Regions from separate parts of the Homo sapiens genome. Here region 1 is linked to region 2. Evidence: promoter capture Hi-C in human tissues and cell types (Jung and others, 2019). All regions are on one chromosome and are shown on one strand. The core of a region is centred on a gene start or on the middle of the fragment in contact, and the rest is flanking DNA. Distances in the headings are between cores, read along the strand shown.

Region 1 (2,700 bases), core at 21-2,520, 340 kb before region 2:
TTCATATTCCTTTTTCTGGTATTCTGGCTTATGCTGCCATTAACTCTTACATATACCTTTTTGAGCCACTTGAATTATTTCCTCAGTTTTGGTGCTGGAAGTGGCATTCTCTGGTCAGAGACTGAGCATTGCCTTGGCTTTTTCTGTCTTGTTTTGTAGAGAGAGTCCACAGATTAGGCTACTGGGAGAAAGGCACCCTGTACCTGCCTCTTTTCCACCATTATCTTAATAATATGGAATTTAAATGTAAAATAGTACTTCACATCATTTTATATGGCATTTCTTTTGGTTGTTAAAAAAATGAATGCTGTCCAGGCGCGGTGGCTCACACCCATAATCCCAGTACTTTGGGAGGTCTTGGCGGGTGGATCACGAGGTGAGGAGTTTGAGACCAGTCTGGCTAACATGGTGAAACCCCGTCTCTACTAAAAGTACAAAAAAATTAGCCAGGCACAGTAGCGCGCCCCTGTAGTCCCAGCTACTTGGGAGGCTGAGGCAGAGAATCACTTGAACCCAGGAGGTGGAGATTTCAGTGAGCCAAGATCACGCTACTGCACTCCAGCCTGGGCAACAGAGTGAGACTCTGTCTCAAAAAAAAAAAAGAATGCTTTCCAAATATGAGAAATCTATTTGTATTTTCTTATATGGTACTAGTTTGGTAATATTTTGCCCTTTTATCTGGTATAGTCCATATTATTTTAAAAATAAGTTTGGGTAAACTTTCTATCCAAGTTTTTGACCTTTTGAAATTTTCAATGCAAAATTTCCCTAGGTGGTTATGCTATTTTTTTAATTGAGTTAGAGATGTTAATATATGACTGATAACCTCAAACACTGCTGGACACATAGGCACTCAGTAAATATTTATTGAATATGCACATCATCTTTTTTAAAAAAAAAACAATGATTGTTCCTGAGAAGGCTCCCCTTTTTTCCATAGAGCTGGTAAATATATTTTATGAAAGTTTTTCTTAAAGTGTTTGACTTTTTGATAACTCTGGAATTTATTTGGGAGTACAGTGGAATGTTAATGTGTTTTAAAATTGCTAGGCAAATGGTATGTTCTTTCATATTTCCTTGTTTTAGGAAGGTTTCTTGATTTGAAATTGTCATCTGGCCTATTATAGGGCTAGGAATTGCTTTTCTATCCCTCAATCCTTGTCTTTGAGAAAATCGGCTCATTTATGTTTTCAGAAAGCGTTTATCATTCCACATAAAAATCTGTTGAAAGGAGGTTGAAGAATATGTTATGTTAAGAGAGTCAATATCCTGAGAGTAGGGATTAAGGTTAGTTTGATACCCATGAGCTATTATCTTCCATTTTTGTTCATGTCTGCCCTGCACCTTTTTTTCCTCTGAAAGATTAGTTAAATCCCTTGACATCTGTAGGATAGGTCTGGGAGATGGAGACTATAGTGATACCTCCTCCTGAGGTCACAGTTGGTGTTAGTTTGTTTGGCCCTCTGCCATTGTTGTTCAAATCTTGAACCTTGTAGAAGACTCAGACAAGTACATGGTATTATCCCTCCTCCTTAGATTTTATAATCTTAGGATTTAAAACCTTTTCATATCATTGAAATGTTAAATGAAAATAAAAGATTTTTCAAATAATTCAATAGGATGATACAGGAGAGAAAGTATCCTTTAATAATACGTAACATTTTTTAAGTGCAGACCGTGTGCCAGGTGCACAGTTATAAGGACTTTCTAAATGCCTTCCTTGTATTGTTGAATATAATCTTCAAAATAACACTTTGAGTGAGGCCCATACCATGATTATCCCCAATTTACAGACAAGGAAACTGGGAACAAAGCAGAGGTTAAGTAACTTGCAATAGGTGAGGTGAGCATATGCCCATAGGTAGCATGGATCCTAAGTACCACCCTTGCTATCTCTAAGATTCTTTCTTGCACCCTCTGGAACTCTTGGTTAGTCTTCAGCTAAATCCGCCAAATTCTCACCCTGTTCTCTCAGTGCAGCTTTCACTTTCCAGCTGTAGCTGAAGCTTGGCTTGCCCTGTAGGCTTCTCAAACAATGGCTCTGTCCTCTTCTACCTTCCTTGTAACACTGACAGGAAATGGGTGAATGTCTCTATTGATTCTCTTGGCTGCTTCCAGAGCATTCTCTCTCCCTTCTCCCTGAAAGCTTCTTAAAACTTCGCATTATGGCTGGCCATCGTGGCTCACACCTGTAATCCCAGCACTTTGGGAGACTGAGGTGCGAGAATTGCTTGAGCCTAGGAGTTTGAGACCAGCTGGGGCAACACAGTGAGACCCCATCTCTCAAAAAATTAAAAAAAAATAGCTGGGCATGATGGTGCACACATGTAGTCCTAGCTATTCAGGAGGCTGAGTTAAGAAGATTGCTTGAGCCTGGGAGGTCAATGCTGCAGTGAGCTGTGATCGTTCCACTGTACTCCAGCCTGGGTGACAGAGTGAGATTCTATCTCAAAAAAAAAATTAAAATTAAACTTAACATTATTATATTTTACCAGCCACTGCTTCTCCTTGTTTTAGTCATCTAACAATCCCCAGGTTGTTCCTTCTTATTTCCACATATAGATGATTCTTCCAATGTCTGGCCTTCCATTCTTTGACCTCCTCTCCTCCAAGGATCTTGTCCTCCAGTTGTCCACCCTACTTCAGCCACTCATTCCCAATGGTAATACTCTGGTATGACAAGCATTGCAACTCTTTGTC
Region 2 (2,700 bases), core at 1-2,500:
GGAGGAAGATCCTTGGTACCCCTGCTCTCTCCAAGGCTGGGACTAGTGTTCCTGGTTGTGGCCAGGTGTGCAGTGGTTGTGACAGCAGATGGTCTTGGCTTGGTCCTAGCAGAGGCTGTGACCCCATACATGGGCCTGATGGTGCCGAAAGGCCTGGCGTGAGCATCCACCCACCGCAGCAGGGCCTGTGGTCTCCACTGACAGATGCTGAGCAGGGCCAGGACATCACCCTCAGCCGTGTGCGAGTCTGGAGGGGACTGCCCATACAGGCGAGTGTAGATGCTGCCTAGGCTATAGCTCTTCCTTGGGCCGTGTTCTGAGGGGCTGCTTGCTCGCTCCAGGGCCTTCAGCGCAGTGATGCTATCCACACAGAAGGCACCATCCAGAGCACTGGTGAGGCCCAGCATAGCCAGCTCTGCTTGGAGCAGGGGGAAGTCGTAGCGGTCACCATTGTGTGCCACCAGGCACCAGGGCTGTGGCTGGCGCCGCAGGAAGGCTAGGAGCAGGTTGGCCAGGTTGTCATCAAAACATTGACGCCCATGCGCTGCCAGCACAGCTGTGCTCAGACCTGTGATCTCGCTGGCTGCAGGGCTGCAGGCCTTCCCCGGAGCCACACACAGGGAGAGCTTGTCTACCACACGCGGTGGTGGAGGAACTGTGGGAGGTGGCCCCTGAGAGGTGGGGGGGCTCTCCAGGGCACATCTGTGGACAGCCAGCAGGCACAGCTCCGTGACCTTGGGCTGGGAGAAGGGCAAGCCAGTGGCCTCCATGTCGAAAAAGATGAGGGTCTGCATGGGCCCCGGGGGCAGGGCCTGCGAGCCCATGGTTGGGTACGTACCTGCTGCTGAGCCTGGAGAGGAGCATGGGGTGGGTGTGTGAGTGCCCAGTGTTAAGATCCGAAGGGGAGGGAGTGGGGTAGGGGGTGGGCAGAAGCACATCTCAGGCCTTCCCTGCACAATCCTGCCCTGTCTGCGAGCTCCAGGGCCCATTTTCAGGCAGGAAGTTGGAGAGGGTGAGGTGGTTTCCTTAGTGGGACCAGCACATTCGACTGTCTGAGAGGGTCTCCCTCTTCACATGACTCGGCCCCTCCCCTAGTGCCCCCTTAGTCTGGGGTGGGGGAACCCATGGCCCTCCTGCCCTGCGCCATCCCATTGTGGGGGCCACACTCACCGTAGCAGGCAGGCAGGCAGGCAGTAGTGACTCGGCTGCACACTCTCCCGCGGCTCTCGCTGGCAGCAGTGGCGGGAAGTGAAACTTGGCGTGGGCCCGCCTACAGGCCCACGTGAGCCAGGCCCGCCCTGCTCGTCAGCCTGCCTGGTCTGTCCCTCTCACCACCATCCGTTCCCCCCCACACCCACTCCCCTGCTCCCGGGGGACCCCAGAGGCCTTCCAAGATCCACAGCTGTGGCCTGCTGGTGGCACAATGCACCGGGGCCATCATACCAGTGACAGGCAGCTGGAAGGACCAGGGCAGTGGTGCCAGACCAGCTCCCGGTCTTACACACTGCTGGGAGCCCCTGCTGCGGCCCTTTCATGCCCACCTGTGGGTCCCAGTTTCCCAGGCTTTCCTGGTTTAGGCCTGGGCCAAGAGCCACCTCCTTCCCTGCCACACAATGGTTTCTTCCCATGGCCCCAGCCCAAAGCAATGACTCAGGACAATTCCACAGGCAGGGCAGGGCTCCTTCCTCAAGGCAGATCAGTTACCATGGGGACGGGCTCAGCAACAGCCAGGGACAGGAAGAAGGATCCCAGCCACTCAGGGTCCGGGTCCTGCTCCACCCCTCCCACTCCGCCAAACAGATCAGACTCAGGAAACAAGGCCAGCCAGTTCTCTGGGCAGTTCCTGCTGGTCACTGCTTTAATCAGTTGATGTGGTAAGGAAAGGAGTGGTGCTGGTGCCACCATGTGGCTGGACACTCAGGGCCTCAGCCACACTCCACCTCGGGGTCTTCCACATCGGTTTCCGCGGCACAGAGGTCATCCAGGGCTGCCTCTGAGACAAAAAGGAGAGGTTCCTGGTGAGGGCCCAAAGGTGCCAGGGCCTAGGGCAGGTCCCACCTCTCCTCCCCCAACGTCCGCAGGAACTAACCAGTCCCTTCCACACCCAGGCCCTGCTCCCTCAGCTACTGCAAACAAAGTGATACAAAGGCAATTCAGACACGGCTATTTCTGGAAAAACCGTGGCTCTGCCAGGCACACTCAACAGATAGATGCAAAAGGCATCCCAATATGCTTGGAGAAGAACTGAGGCAGGAAGATAAAAGAAAATGGCCCCAGTGCTGGAACAGGCTGCAGTGGGCGGGGGCCTGCTGAGGGGACACCCAGGAATCTGACTTGTTGGGGAACCTCTGGAAGAAGCCATGGGGGCTGGGCAGGATGGCCTCTGGCAGGCTTACCTTCACAGTCCGTCACATCAGGAAGCCCTCGGATGAGCATGCTGACCCCCGGCATCACCTGGTCAAACTGATGCAGGACCTCCACGCAGTGCATCATGAAGAGCTTGTCCTTCTGCGATAGGCCGTGCAGCAGCAGCACCGTGTCCCGCAGACAGCGCACTGTCCGCCTCTGCTGGTCGGTCCTTGGGGGTCCCCCTGCCCTCCGCACTGTCAGCCACTGTCTGTGCAACATCACCGTGAGCGCTCTGACCACCTGAGAGAGGGGGGGTGCAGACTGAGGCCTGGTGCCACCATGGCCTGCACC

Evidence for each region. Contacts are between HindIII fragments. The study calls those that stand out against the background at their distance.
Region 1: a contact is called between a fragment that was not itself captured here and the fragment with the promoter of TREX1 in region 2, in 1 of the 25 tissues and cell types used here (stomach).

What each region holds. Positions count from the first base shown.
Region 1 is chr3:48,804,680-48,807,379 of GRCh38, reverse strand. All of the region lies in intron 2 of PRKAR2A (protein kinase cAMP-dependent type II regulatory subunit alpha), which reads left to right. Among named protein-coding and RNA genes, the nearest start is that of PRKAR2A, 42 kb to the left of the region's middle. The HindIII fragment of the contact is 5,640 bases long and covers 1-2,700 here.
Region 2 is chr3:48,464,780-48,467,479 of GRCh38, reverse strand. TREX1 (three prime repair exonuclease 1) reads right to left here and starts at 1,250. Exons shown (of 2, transcript NM_033629.6): 1 at 1,171-1,250; 2 at 1-850. The coding sequence starts at 824. It overlaps ATRIP (ATR interacting protein), which reads right to left. Exons shown (of 13, transcript NM_130384.3): 12 at 2,397-2,649; 13 at 1-1,993. The coding sequence ends at 1,926. ATRIP-TREX1 (ATRIP-TREX1 readthrough) reads right to left here. Exons shown (of 15, transcript NR_153405.1): 13 at 2,397-2,649; 14 at 1,171-1,993; 15 at 1-850. RefSeq lists enhancers at 1-440, 655-854, 441-1,322, 1,935-2,024. The HindIII fragment of the contact is 7,289 bases long and covers 1-2,700 here.